Regions from separate parts of the Homo sapiens genome. Here region 2 is linked to region 1. The links are contacts of gene promoters, found by promoter capture Hi-C in blood cells and fetal thymus (Javierre and others, 2016). All regions are on one chromosome and are shown on one strand. The core of a region is centred on a gene start or on the middle of the fragment in contact, and the rest is flanking DNA. Distances in the headings are between cores, read along the strand shown. Region 1 holds the start of NPAS2-AS1 (NPAS2 antisense RNA 1). Region 2 has its middle 22 kb from the start of CHST10.

Region 1 (7,645 bases), core at 3,289-5,788:
ACCCTCCCCTCTCCAGCCTTACTTGCTACTATGCACGTCTCGGAAATCTGTGCAAAAAACGAACAAAACAATCACCCAGTCTTTGCCCCGAGGGCCCCCTCTCCAGTGTGACTGACCTCGGGGTAAAGACACGGTGATTGTTTTGGGTCTCCCCTTCCTTTGGACCCTTAATCCTTTCTGGGGAAGGAGGCTGGCCTTAGGAAACTTGCAGGTAGTCTCTGCCTCCTGTCCCGTCTCCCTCAACACAGGCTCCTCCGCTTCCAGGAAACACTGTTTGGGAGGGATGGCAGGAGGGGCCTGCAGCCCCTGCTCTGGGCTCTTCGGGGCTATGACTCCCATATCTTGAGGCAAATGAGTTTGCTAGATTCATTCTGTTTTTCTCTTTCTCCCTTTTTACCATGATTTAACCTCCACTCCCTCAATCTCTAGCCCAACAATCTCCCTAGTCTGTTTCCTGCCCGCTGTCTTTTGCAAATGCCCCCAGGGCCTCTCTCTTTTCCTCTGCCCTTTGACCTCCCAGACACAGGGAGGCAAGGAGAGCAGGAGAGTTGAGAAACAGGATGAAATAACTGAAAGCATAGCTTTTGAAGCAGCAAAATAATAATAAAAAGAACCAGTAAGAGTAAGAATAGCAGGTGCTGACATGTGCAGAGACCCTCAGGTGCCAGCTGCTGCCCCAGGCAAGTAGAGGTACGTGTGTTGTGCTTCACGACGAGCCCATGCCACCCCAAGAGGCTGCACCCTGCTGGAAATCACACAGCGAGATGGTGGCAGCACCAACATGTAAATCCCAAGTCTTAGGAGCTGAGCAAGGCCAAGAAGTTTTGCCCACAAGACACTCCCATCTTGACCAGAGTGGCTTTGACCTCAGACTTCCTTTAAAAGGAAGGTTCTGTTGCTACCCATGCATTTAAAAATACCTGTGCTGGGCCTGGGGCGGTGACTCATGCCTGTAATCCCAGCACTTTGAGAGGCCGAGGTGGGCGGATCACCTGAGATCAAGAGTTTGAGACCAGCCTGGCCAACATGGCAAAACCCCATCTCCACTAAAAAATACAAAAATTAGCCAGGCGTGGTGGTGGGCACCCGTAATCTCAGCTACTCGGGAGGCTGAGGCAGGAGAATTGCTTGAATCCGGGAGGCAGAGGTTGCAGTGAGCCGAGATTGCACAACTGCACTCCAGCCTGGGCAACAGAGTGAGACCCCGTCTCAAAAAATATATATATAAACAAAAATAACAAAAATTAAAAAAAACCCTGCGCTATCCCAGACTCACAAAAATCCCAGTCAGATTGTGACTAATCAGACCACTCTGTGAGGATTTTGAAAGGGAATTCAACGGAGAAAGCAAACGAGCTATTCCAAGTATTTAACGAAACACAAAAGCTTCTCTGGCAGGTTCTACGAAGTCGGGAAACTCAGCGTTGCCCCTTCCACCTGCAGTGGAGGCGGCTCATCGGTGCCCAGTTGGCTTGGAAAGGGAGTGGCGATGGGCTGGGTTAGGAGGTGGTGGCTGCCTCTCACGTTATTCGGATTTTTTCAAGGCCTCCCAGACACCCCATCATTAGGCCCTCCTTACCTTCTTGATGGTGATGTTTTTGATAAAGAGAGCTACTCTAATTTAAAGACATTTTAGAACCATAGTATGAAGAAAGAGGCTTTTTTGGAAAACCACCAGTTACCCAGATAACCGCTCCTCAGATTTTGGATTTCATTTTTCCCTTCTTTCCCTGAAGGGTGAGGGGAGTGAGAGAAAAATCCCAGAATCTCGTTGTTTCACATGAAGTGGGTATTTCACATGAAGTGGGAAGAACTGTGTGACTTGGAAAGTCAGTATTATGCAGGGATGTCTTAAAGAATATAGTTATTGGCTGGGCGTGGTGGCTCACGCCTGTAATCCCAGCACTTTGGGAGGTTGAGGTGGGCGGATCACCTGAGGTCAGGAATTCAAGACCAGCCTGGCCAACACAGCGAAACCCCGTCTCCACAAAAAATACAAAATTAGCTGGGTGTAGTGGTGCATTCCTGGTAGTGGTGCATTCCTGTAATCCCAGCTACTTGGGAGGCTGAGGCAGAAGAATCGCTGGAACCCAGGAGGTGGAGGTTGCAGTGAGCCAAGATGGTGCCATTGCACTCCAGCCTGGGCAAAAAGAGTGAAACTCCGTCTCAGAAAAAAAAAAAAAAAAAAAAAAAAAATATATATATATATATATATATAGTTATTATTAAATATAGTACACATGACAGACTAAGAAGTTCAATAAATGAAAAATCAGAATTCCAAAAGAGACTGCATCACACCATCGTGTCTTGTAAACACAGACATTCTTCATAATGCAAGACCCAGAAGTTAAAGACATTTTCATTTTATGCCCCTTTGGATTAAAAGGTTACTAATTTCTTACCAAATAGGCCTTGGAAATTTAAAGAGAAAAACAGTATTCAGGTTTTTTTTTCTTTTGGCCTAATGAGGGTGAATATAGGCAGTTTTAATGAGTAGATTCCAGAAGGGTAGCTTTTTTACACCAATCTTCAAGCCTGACTCTGGCAAGCAGCACGCGTTAGCATGTGTCTTACTCCAGGAATGCATGAGAGACCCCCACTAAGAGGGCATATGTTCCGAAATAGTTTTCATCAGTGGTGACAGATGTGTGCCAAGACAGAGAGGGGCACCTGCTGCTGAACTGCCGTCTGGGACGCAGCTCTAGCCTGTGGCCATGGTCTGGGCAGAGCTAAGTCTCCTATGAGGGAACTGAAGTCAGAGCTCAGGCCTGGGCAGGGTTTGTCACTCCCCGTGTTCAGAACTCCCTGCTGAAGCACATCCCTGCTGTCCCCCTGCCAAACCATCTGGCAACCTCCTACCCACCTTTCCGGGGCCAACTCAAGCGTCACCTCCTCCAGGAAGCCACGTCAGACTTCCCTGGGTAGAATATTTCCTTCACGGTTCTATAAAAACGCATGCCCTGCCACGGCGGCGTCTCTGTTTACATGCCTGTCTCTCCCTTTAGTTCTGAGAACTAAAAGCAAGGGCTGACTTACATCTTTACATCCCTAACACCTCGCTCACTGACTGACCCAAATAGTAACTCACCGAATGTTGTTGAAACAAGGATGGAATTACTCAGCAAAGCCGTAATCCTTTTCTTTTCTTTCTTTCTTTCTTTCTTTCTTTTTTTTTAAACAAATGTGATATTTATAGTGCTGGACTCACGGCTTTTAGATCCTTTCAGTCTTTCTATGACATGCAGCCCAATTCAGACCTTTTCTAAAATACCATGGCCAATTTGGAGTCGTAAAGAACAAGAGGAATGTGGAAAAGTGGCAAAGAGGTGAACAGAGACTGTTAAAAGAATTAAAAAAACAGACTCTGGACTTCTGCAGCAACTTGGATGGAGCTGGAGGTCATTATTCTAAATGAAGCAACTCAGAAATGGAAAACCAAATATCGTATGTTTTCACTTCTAAGTGGGAGCTAAACTATGAGGTCACAAAGGCATAAGAATGAAATGATGGACTTTGGGACTGGTGGGGCAAGGGTGGGGGGATGTGAGGCATAAAGGACTACATATTGGGTACAGTGTACACTGCTCGGGTGACAGGTACACAAATCTCAGAAATCACCCCTAAAGAACTTATCCATACAATCAAACACCACCTGTTCCCTCAAAACTACTGAAATTTAAAAAAAGAAAACCCCAGACACTGGAAAAAAGAACTTGGAGACGAGAGGGTGGGTGTGGGGGGAACCTCATGGCTCGACACAGGCCACACACACATTGGGAGGGACATTCCCCCACGTCAGGGCCTTGGTTGGGACCTAAGTGTACAAGACCATCAGCGCAGCACACTGCGGACTTCTGGCTTGAGAGGGGCTGCCCTTTCCTGGGTCCCAGACTCACCTGTGCCATGGGAGCGGGCGTGCTCTGCAGAACGGTCTGAGGCAGGAGCTGCTGTGTGAGGTCGCAGGACGATGGGGAAGGCAGAGGGGCCTGTGGGAGAGAAAGGGGCTTTGTTACCACTGCTTCTGCCATTCCAGGGGACAGGGATGTGGTCTCTTGGTCCGGTGGGTTCTCTGCGTTCCGCACTGGGGTGAACAGCTCCAAGTCAAGAGTTCTAGAAAGTATAGGTGTCTGTTCCCTGGCTGCACTGCTTCCTACGCAGGGCACAAGGGCAGAGCCCCTGCACAACTGGTGCAGGCTTCCACCCCACCACAGTGTGCTCTGCCAGGCTGCTGCTACCTGCCCAAGCCTGGTAGCTCAGCTCTACTTCCCTTCCCTTGCCTGCTGTCCTGGACTCCGCCCTGGGTGGATTTGGTTGCTCTCCTCCCAAATGGATTAATTCTTAGCGGTGTCATCAAGCAGGACGACGTGCGTGGACTGCTACCATGAGCTGCTGTGCGTCCGTATCTTTTCTGCTCAGCGCTAATGCAGATGGACAGACACGCCATGCATGTTTGTCCATGAACTCATCCAGGCAGTGAGGACTGGGGCAGTTTCACCAGCCTCTGCCCAGAACCTTTTAAGAGACTCCTGGGAAGTGAGCTGAGTCACATCTGCGCTCCCTGATCACTCGGGTGGGTGGGGGAGACAATGTATAGTAACAAGAAATGAAACACTCTGCTTCACGGGCTAGTGGTTTTCTAGTGGTTTTTTTTTTTTTTAAAGAACAGTGAAAGGACTCGTCTGAAGTTATTCCGACACGGCCCCTAGTTGCTAGGGCCTATATAAAAAAGCAGCTCAAATGGAAAGTGTCACCCAGGACAGCATTGGGAGGAAATGACACCAGGAGACCTTGTTTCAGTGAGAAATCCCAGGCACAGGGCTGATCCAGAAGCTGGTCTGGGTTCTGTTTCCCTGCGCAGCTGGGAGGAGACAGAAGCACTCTGGGCCTCCGTTGTTGGCAAAGTGAGTCACACTGGACAGGAGAGTCTGGAAGAATGGCAGGCACAGCTTGCAAGCGCATCTGGAGGTGGCTGGAGAGAAAGTAAGTGGTCTTTGCCACATTCTACTTGAAAATAAAACGCATCGCCCAAGCTTCTCAAGCAGGGTGTGCACAGCCTTTATGGAGACAGCAAGCAGGAAGGTGGCACGTTCACTCCATCTCCAAAGTGACAGTGAAGTGTGGGTGGGAGGGGTTTGGCAACTATCTGGAGGTGGCCCCTAAAATTCCTGGGTACTTCTCCCGTCTAGAAGTGGAGGTCTATATCCCTCTTCATGGGTGAGCTCAGGGCTGCTTTGACCAAGAGGTATGGCAGTGGTGATACTATATGACTTCCGTGGCTAGGTCACAGAGGTCTGCATGGTTCCTGCCTGCGTCTCCAGGTGTCTCCTCTTGGAACCTGGAGTCCACCACCATGCCAGGAGAAGCCTAAGGCTTGAGAGGCCCATGCAAGTCAATGACGGATGGCCTCAGCTGAGCCCAGCCCTCAGCCACCCAGCCCGGCTGCTGGACATTCATGTGCAGACACCATCTGGTGGGTGCATTCCATAGCCTAGGCCCACGAGATCCCCGACACCAAGGAGCAGAGAAGTGCCATCCCCATGATGCCCTTTCTGAATTCCTGACCCAGACTCCATGAACTTCATACATGTGGTTGCTTTAGGCCACTAAGTTAGGTGTAGTTTGCTACCTGGCAATAGATGACCAGAGTGGTGCATGCCAGTGACTTTACATATAGCCAGGGCCATACATCCCGATGTTCTGGAAGGATCTGGCACATGTTGGGGACGCTACCTGATATGTGCAGAGGTACATTTTTGTTGACACTGAGCTGCTCAAATATTTTCACCAGCATGAAAGGGGATTCAAAACAGAAGAATCCTAATTGTGTAGCCCCAGGGGCTCTGGGGGTATGAGGGTATGACCCCGGGTTTGCAGTTTTGCCTTTAATCCTTAAAATTCACTTGGATTTTGTATTCTAATGGATATGCATCCATGTTAATTTTGTCATGCAAATGTTTAAAATTAGTTGCCAATTAAATTACTTAACTTCCCACCCCCATCTGCCACCCTACACTCTCAATCCCTAAGTAAAACGGATTCTCTGGGGAGACGCAGCACATCGCCTGGCTCTGCAGCCCCCACCACATTGTAGCGTACACCCGTGGAGGAGTTTGGGGTCACACACTTACCGGCATGGTGGCTGCCTGGCTGAGCCCGGGGACAGGTAACTCTTGGGGCAGGGTGGCTGATCTTGGCAAAGCCGGGGTGCTGGCCTCTGCCATCAGCTTGGTGGGAGTGGCTGTAAGAAAGCAACGAATGACCTTCTAACTTCCATGTACTTAGCATGTACTCATCCGAAGAGGGGACCCATGACCGTGGTGTGCACAGTACAAGAGCTCGCTTGGGATCTCTGATAAAGGAAGTCCACCATGCAGGGTTGAGCTGAACCACAGAAGCCCAGCCTGGGAGCAGGTAGGAGACACCACAAACACTCCCTAAACTTCATTTCGGCTGCTTGGTCCAATGAGCTGCCTGATCAGACGCCTCCCCAGAATTACTAAAAGCAGTCAAGGGATCAGATCTGTGCACAACCCACTCAATGTCTTTGCTTGGCAATGAATGGATACCAGAGTGTGGAGAGGTGATCAGGAGGCGGGAAGTCTGGGAAAGGAAAGGAGGAGTATAAACTGCACGGCAACCTCTGTCGGAGGCACAGACTGCCCTGATTCCACTTGGGCCCGGGACCCTCTGTGGGGCTGTCCCTCTGGTCTGATGTGGACATCCCACTCCCCATCCATGGACTCGCACTCACAGGTGGGTTCTGACATGGCTGTGTGCGAGGATTTGTGGGAACTTCTTGAGGACGCCGATGGCGAATGACTGGTATTAAGGCCCGAGGCACCCACGTCGAGTGTGTTAAAGTGCTGCCGAGGTTCCAGGCTTGAGCCCTTGTCCTGAAACACACACATCAAACAGTCCTCATGTCAGCATCAAGAGGAAAGAATCAGTGGGCGTGACTTTAGTTCTAAATATGTCGACAACCTCAGAAGCTGCTGAGACAAATACCATAGTTGTTTGGGGACGATTCCAAAGATGCTTGGGTAGAGTATATACATATACGTAACCTAAAGCCTCAGAGAGGCTTGCAGCCGAAAAGCAGCGTTTATTACCCTTTCTCGCCTTTTGTTTTTATTATTTACATTTTCGTAACTGACTTTCCATTTTATTATTTCCTCAACATTGTCACCTCACCACCCAGCATCTTGACTTTCCAAGAAGGGGGAAGGAGGTTCTAGAAATAAGGTTGCTGCTGGCAGTGGACTGTAAACTCATCCACTGGGACAGGTGCCTTTGGACCTTCCTGGGTCCTTCCCAGGCTTTCTCCTGTTACTCATTCTCTGCAGCCTCAGTGTCCCCTGGAGTGGAGAACCGGGGAGGGCAAGGGGTCTCCTGTCTTTCGACCTCTCGCTCCTGACTGACCCTGGCTCCCAGGATGTCTCTGCTTCAAATACAGTGTGACGAGAAAGCAGCTGTGACAGTCTGACTCCGAAGGACCGTTTTTCCATCCTCTGTGGCTTAGCTGTTATAGGCACATGAAAACAGGGGCTGGGTTGGGGCTGGGTGCGGTGGCTCACGCCTGTAATCCCAGCTCTTTGGGAGGCTGAGGCAGGCGGATCATTTGAGGTCAGGAGTTCGAGACCAG
Region 2 (7,645 bases), core at 3,124-5,623, 540 kb after region 1:
CATGAGAACAGCATGGGGAAAACCGCCCCCATGATCCAACCACCTCATTCCCACCACACATGGTGATTACAGTTTGAGATGAGATTTGAATGGGGACGTACAGCCAAACCATATCAAGGACTAATATCTAGAATATATAAAGAACTCTCAAAACCCAATAATAAACAAAAATTTCAATTAGAACATGAGAAAAAGGAAAAGACTACTACAGATGCCAATTAAGCACATAAAAAGTATTGGATATCATTAGCCATGAAGGAAGGATGAAACTATTTATTGAGGGCTGGCGAGGCAGGTATTGTGTTAGGCATTTGTGGGGATACAGAGATGAATTAGACAAGGATTTTGCCCTCAAGTAATTCACAGTCGACTAGGGGAGGGAAGTTCTAAGACAAATATGATGTCAAGATAGTGGTAAGTGTCCCAACTGGGAGAAAATAATGTCGCCTAGAGTTTCTAGCTGACATGCATCAGGAAAGACATTGTGTTGACATTTGACACAAAGAATGGGTAGGATCTAGGCAAGAGAAGGTATGATGAAAAGACATTTCAGATGTAGAGAGAGGCAGGAGCAAGTGTTGGAGTTGGGACAGTGTAGGGTTTGGTCAGGCTGGTGTCCTCAGATAAGAAAGGCAACACTGAGCTGGGAAATGAGGCTGGAAGGGTGAGTTAGTCAGGACGACTGTGAAAATATTCGTTTGAAATGTGCTCCTTATGTCAAAATCAGCATGATCTATTTTGGTTACCTTTGAAAGGCCTTTCCTCAGGTAATGATTCCATAAACTGAAAGCCCTTCTATTCCTAGGCTGCCACTGTGAACTTTGAAAGATGCCAGTTGCTGATCTGATGGCTGATAAAATGTGGAGATTGGAGCTAATGGAGGAAAGCTAAGGACAAGAGGAATATGTATCCATCTTCTCCAAAAACATTTGCTCCAATAGATCATCTACCTACCACAGATAGAGTCACATCAAGCAGCATATCCACAGGAAGGCCTCCTTCAATCATTTCATTTCCAAGCTTCTCTTTTAAAATGCAGACATTCTTAGCAGTTTGAGATTGGACTGGAGAGAGGGTGGTTTGAATAATTTACAGTTATGCTTTTTAAAATTTGACCATATGTTTTGATAGTACCCTGTTTCATTTGCAAGCTTTTAGAAAATCCATCAGATTAGAGAGTAAGAAAAAGATCAGAGACATCTCTCTCGAGGAAGGTACAATCACTGTGTTTTTGGCATGTCCACTGGAAGTTTCAAACATATAACTTCAAACTATGTAACAGGTATGCTACTCCAAGCATGCATGGGAACTAGATCCTGGAAGCTTACACCAGGCAAAGCTTAAATTAAATAAGGACTATCAATTAGATCACCTTCTGATCAAGCCCAGAAAAAAATCAGTGTCTAATTTGAATAGAAGAGTATCTGACCTCCCAACCTTATTTTGTGGTGTAGGATAGTATTATATATAGAATATTACTTCTCAAAATATAATGTGCACATAAATTACTTGCAGATTTTGTTGAACCTGTAGATTAGGTCTGAGTGGGGCCCATGAGGACGTGAGCAACACAATAAACCAACTAGATAAAACAAACATATTCAGAGCCCCTACCGTTACAGAGCACGCATTCTTCTCAAATGCACACAGGATATTTTCTAGGACAGATCATATTTTAAGCAACAAGTTAAGTTTCAACAGATTTTAAAAACAGATATCCTACAAAGTACCTTCTCTGGCTACAATGGGATGAAATTAGAAATCTATAAAGAAGGAAATTTTTTAAATATCCCTCTAAATTAACAACAACAAAAAAAATCCCACAATTTTTGGCCCAGGACCTGACACACAGTAGACACTCAACACATGATAACAAGTCACACTTGGGTTCAGTGGGCATGATTATTGTGAAAGGGAATCTGCTTGCCATGTTTACAGCTTGACAGAGGAGGGAGTTGTGAGTTGCTGTTTTCATACATAGTTAAGAGAAATATTATCACTGTTTCCCATGTGATTGGAACATGGGGGCTGTTTCCCCCATGCTGTTCTCGTGACAGTGAGTGAGTTCTCATGAGATCTGATGGTTTTATAAGGGGCTCTTCCCCCTTTGCTTTCTCTCACCGTTGTTTCCCAGCTCACTGTTCCCCTTCTTATCTGAGGGCACCAGCCCAATCAACCCTACACTGTCCCAACTCCAATGCTTGCTCCTGCCTTTCTCTACACCTGAAATGTCTTCTTTTCACATCTCCTGTTGCCCAGATCCTACGCATTCTTTGTGTCAAATGTCAACACAATGTCTTTCCTGATGCATGTCAGCTAGAAACTCTAGACGACATTATTTTCTCCCTGTTGGGATATTTACCAATGATAAAACATTATCAGTGTTTTCCCGCTTTTCCCATGGTTGGAAGTCCCAAGGTATTCACTTGCTCTTCAGGGATGGCTACATACCCTAAAGGGCTATTCTTGGCTCACATACACATGCTTCTTTCTACTGGATCTTAACATTTTATTTTAATAGTTGGCTTCACATTAAGCAGCATATCCACACACAGGCCTATTTCAGAGAACAACCAATGCACGTAAAACAACTTAAAATGATGGTACAAAATGAATACAAACAGTCGCCTAAAATTTTTTCTGTTCTTTCTCATTTTTTACTCTATATGTACCCAGCAAGAAGGGGCTAGTGCTGTTTTCTGATTACGGTGGAGAGGTTTGGGGAGCCACAGAGGATAAGTCACTTTGTCCATGATCCTCCAGCAGGTCAGTAGTAAATAGGCACTGCGGTGGCTTTTACCAGGGCAAAGTAGTTAAGCCGTATGGCTAGAATTCCCCTTTCTGTGTGGCCATGGGAGGCACGTGTGTGAGGCTGGAAGTGAAGTAGTAGGAAGACCGGTAGTGAGTCAGGTGTCGCGCGCGGGTGCAGCCCATGAACGGTGCTGCGGCTTTGCGGGCACACCTCGGTGTGGGGCAGCAGCTGATCCACAGCTCTTCCAGTCCTGCTGAATTTCTCCTCGGGATTCTCTGCCTCCTGGGCCAGGTACATGTTTAGCTCTGTGGCAAAGGGCACCAGCCTTTCCCTCTGGTCACACGCATCACCCAAGTCTGAGGTGTGGAGGCGGGAGAGGAGGCAGATGCTGGTGGGAGTCCCTCCTTGTGGGTCCCAGCTTGTCCCTGCCTGCCCTGTTACATTCTTCTTTTCTTTCCTGAGATTTATTATAGGGCAAAGCCCTGTAATAGGTCTCATACTCTATATCATTCCCAGTGGCCATGTGCTTCTTTGATTGAACTCTGAAGGTTACATGAGCAATATCAAGATTTTCCTTTTTTTTTTTTTTTTGAGACGGAGTCTTGCTCTGTCGCCCAGGCTAGAGTGCAGTGGCGCAATCTTGGCTCACTGCAAGCTCTGCCTCCCGGTTCACGCCATTCTCCTGCCTCAGCCTCCTGAGTAGCTGGGACTACAGGCACCTGCCACCACGCCGGGCTAATTTTTTGTATTTTTAGTAGAGACGGGGTTTCCCCATGTTAGCCAGGATGGTCTCTGTCTCCTGACCTCGTGATCAGCCCGCCTCGGCCTCCCAAAGTGCTGAGATTACAGGCGTAAGCCACTGCACCCGGCCTAGATTGTTAAATGTTTCATCGGACCTAAAAGGGTGCCTAGCTCTTAGCTGATTTCCTGGATCTGGAAAGCAAGGAAGGAAAAAAGAGAGGGGAAAGGGGATTCTCTATAGAATGCGATTTTTTTTCCCACAAGAGAAAACTTTGCAGGGCAATTTCAAGATTTGGCAAGGAAACATATTTGGGGTTAAAATGTTTTGACTTCTTGCCTTATTTGTTATATGATGTTATGCCAGAGTCAGGTTAGAATGCAGACCTCGCTCTATAGGCTTAAAATAAAAACCCCTCTGATGAGACTTTATGGTTTGTAAGATGTGACTCCTCAGACCCCTTAGGTAGGAATTTGGGCATGTTAAAAAAAATTAAAGCTTAGTTCTCTGTCTCCTCCCTTTCTCTTACACACACACACACACACACACACACACACAGAGACACACAGACACACACACACAAATTTGAGACAGAGTCTCACACCGTTGCCCAGGCTAGAGTGCAGTGGCACAGTCATGGTTCACTGCACTCTTGACCTCCCTGGGCTCAGGTGATCCTCCCACTTCAGATTCTCAAGTAGCGGGGACTACAGCACATGCCACCACACCCAGCTAATTTTTGTATTTTAGTAGAGACGGAGTTTTGCCATATTGCTCAGGCTGGTCTCGAACTCCTGACCTCAAGTGATCCACCCCCCCTTGGCCTCCCAAAGTACTGGAATCACAGGCGTGAGACACTGCACTCAGCCTAATAGTTTATATTTTAAAAGACTCTGTGGTGCTGTTTCTCATAGACTTTATAGAAGCAGGGAAGAATCAGAACATGATCAAAACCATTTCAGGACTCAATGCCAAAAGATATTTTGTTAGATACATTATAAGGAAAAACGATTTGTGAAACTATGTGAATATTGCTCTGACATTTGCAAAATTATGCTGTCTACTTCTGAACTCCCCGAGACAAGAGAAACAATAACTGGACATTGACAGAAAAAGTGAGCCAAATTAAATAGAACAAGCATTGAATGATGACCTTATATATCAAAAGTTAGGAGGTACAGCCAAAGTAGTACTTACAGGGAAATTTAGAGCTTTAAGTACAAATATCAGAAAAGAGAAGGTTGGATATAAATAATCTAAGCTTCTAAACCAAAAAGAACAGGCAATAAAAGGATGAGGTGGAAGGAATTAAAGATAAAAGCAGAAATTAATAAAATAGGCTGGAACAGAGAAAATCAATAAAACCAAAAGTTGGATTTTAAAAAATATTAATAAATTAGAAATCTTAGCAAGACTGGACAAGAAAAAAGAGAAAACACAAATGGTGAATGTCAGGAATGAGAAGGGAAACCTCAATCCAGATTTGACAGATAATTTAAAAGATAGTAAGACATTATGGATAACTTTGTGCAAATAAATTCGAAAACTTGGTGGATTAGCCTGTTTTTATGCTGGTGGTAAAGACATACCAGAGACTGGGAAGAAAAAGAGGTGTAATTGGACTTACAGTTCCACATGGCTGGAGAGGCTTCAGAATCATGGAGGGAGGCGAAAGGCTCTTCTTACATGTCGGTGGCAAGAGAAAATGAGGAAGATGCAAAAGCGGAAACGTCTGATAAAACCATCAGATCTCACGAGGTTATTCACTACCATGAGAACAGTATGGGGGAAATGACCTCCATGATTCAATTATCTCCCACTGGGTCCCTCCCACAACCCGTGGGAATTACGGGAGTACAATTCAAGATGAGATTTGGGTGGGGACACAGAGCCAAACCATATCACTTGGATAAATGGAAAAATTTTCTCCAAAGCACCACATATTAAAACTTAAATAAAAAATAAAAATTTGGAATAGACTTATATCTGTTTAAAAAATTGAGTCTGTAATTAAGTACTTTCTCACAAAAGAATTTCAGCAGCAAACTTCCCTAGTGAAGTCTTCCAAACATTTAAAGAAGGGAAAATATTAATCTCAGAAAATCTCTCTGCAGCTATAGCGTTGTTGTGAGGATTAAACGACTTAATATATCTAATCGTTTGGTTTTTCTCTGTACTCAATCATTTCATCTGTTTGTAAAGATAGTTTTATTCTTTCTCTCTAAACTAAGATCCCTCCAGCATAATGTTGAATAGAAATGGCGATAGTGTATTGCTTTGCCTTGTTCATCCAACAAATATAGTGTTAGCTATAAGATTTGTGGGTTTTATTTTTGTTTGTTTGTAGGTGCCTTTTATCAGATTATGAACATTTTCTTCTCTATGTCTAGTTTGCTGAGAATTCTATCGAGTGGGTATTTAATTTTATCAAATGCCTTCTGCATCTGTTGAAATAATCACACTGTTCTTGCCTTTATTCTTTTAATGTGGTGAATTACATTGGTTGCCTTTCAAATATTAAGCCTGCCTTGCATTCCTGGAATAAACTCTACTTGGTCATGATGCATTAACCCTTTTCTATATAATTGAATTCAATTTGCTATTATTTTACTTAAGACTTTTCTGTCTTTTTGAGAAATACTGCTCTATAACTTTATTTTCTTGTAATGTGTCTAAAATTGTGAAAAAATGCATATTTTTTTCTGTAATTATGCTCTATATCACTGGTTTTAAAACTTTTGACCAAAACAATACAAAATACATGTTATATTGTGATCAGTGCACGTAGATCTGTGAGTGTGTGAAGTGTGTGAGTGTATGTATAAAATAAAGGTTTTGTAAAACAATCCTTTTTTTTTAGTAGGGTCTCACTCTGTTGCCCGGGCTGGAGTGCAGTGGTGCAATCACAGCTCACTGCAGCTTCCACCTCCTGGGCTCAAGTGATCCTCTCACCTCTGCCTCCCAAGTAGCTGGGATGACAGGCACATGCCACCACACCTAGTTAATTTTTTACTTTTAGTAGGGATGGGGTCTTATTAGGTTGCCCAGGCTGGTCTTGAATTCCTGGGCTCAAGTGATCCTCCCACCTCAGCCTCCTAAAGTGCTGGAATTACAGGTGTGAGCCACCACACCCAGCCTTATGAAATAATTCTTACCCTTCATAAGAAGGAAGCACTCTACTATTTCTGATTCAATTATCTTCTATTCTTTTAAATGATGGGTGGGTGTGAAGCACGAACTTGATTTTTGTGACCCACTAATAGGTTGCTATGTGCAGTTTGAAAAACATTGCTTGCATACAGTGTGCACTATGTAAGTGTTCGCTACTGTTATTAGTAATTTATGGCTCTCTAGAACCTTGCGCAGTACCTGGCATACAGTATGCACTTGAAAAACATCTATGAACAAATTACTTTGTTTATCAGTGGCTTTTAATAGAGTGGTTTCAATAGAGGGTTGAGAGTAGTGACTTCTGCTAAGATATTATTTACCTTGACTCTTACTAGGAATTAGGGTATCACTTGGATCCTTGTTGGCCTCTTACGACTGATAGCAAAGAAATTTGCTGGCCACCAGAAAGAAGAAAATATAGTTGCCACAGCCTGCACAAACTCATTCATGAAGGCAGTGTTCATCCCATTGTCACCTCAATTAGGTAAATTACTTTGGAGGACCCATATGTGGCTGATTTTCTTTTTTTTTTAAGAGACAGGGTCTTGCTCTGTCACACAGGCTGGAATGCTGTGGCATGATCTCAGCTCACTGTAGCCTCGACCTCCTGCGCTCCAGCAATCCTCCCACCTCAACCTTCCAAGTAGCTAGGACTATAGGCATGCGCCACCACGCTCAGCTAACTTTGTATTTTTTGTAGAGACAGGGTTTCACCATATTGCTCAGGCTGGTCTTGAACTCCTGAGCTCAGGCAATCTGCCCACCTTGGCCTCCCAAGGTGCTGGGATTACAGGCATTGAGTGTGGCTGAATTTTAACTTGAATTTGGATTCTTAATTTTCATTTAAAAAGAAAAGCCTTACAACTACAATGCAGCATTGAAACAGTGTCTTTGGGTGTACAAAGCAAAGCAATTTAAAGGCTGGGGGAATTATCAGGCCTCTCATATCACAGAATGCCCAAAGCTAGGAGAGGTGATTATAA

What was found. Contacts are between HindIII fragments. The CHiCAGO score rates a contact against its expected background, and 5 or more counts as called.
Region 2: a fragment that was not itself captured here is called in contact with the fragment with the promoter of NPAS2-AS1 in region 1 in 1 of 17 cell types (total CD8 T cells); the score reaches 5.1 in total CD8 T cells.

Annotation. Positions count from the first base shown.
Region 1 is chr2:100,974,054-100,981,698 of GRCh38, reverse strand. It overlaps NPAS2-AS1 (NPAS2 antisense RNA 1), which reads left to right and starts at 4,538. Exons shown (of 3, transcript NR_110213.1): 1 at 4,538-4,983; 2 at 6,286-6,414. NPAS2 (neuronal PAS domain protein 2) reads right to left here. Exons shown (of 21, transcript NM_002518.4): 13 at 6,755-6,896; 14 at 6,132-6,241; 15 at 3,900-3,989. The HindIII fragment of the contact is 3,647 bases long and covers 1,389-5,035 here.
Region 2 is chr2:100,435,512-100,443,156 of GRCh38, reverse strand. No RefSeq gene overlaps it. Among named protein-coding and RNA genes, the nearest start is that of CHST10, 22 kb to the right of the region's middle. The HindIII fragment of the contact is 763 bases long and covers 3,992-4,754 here.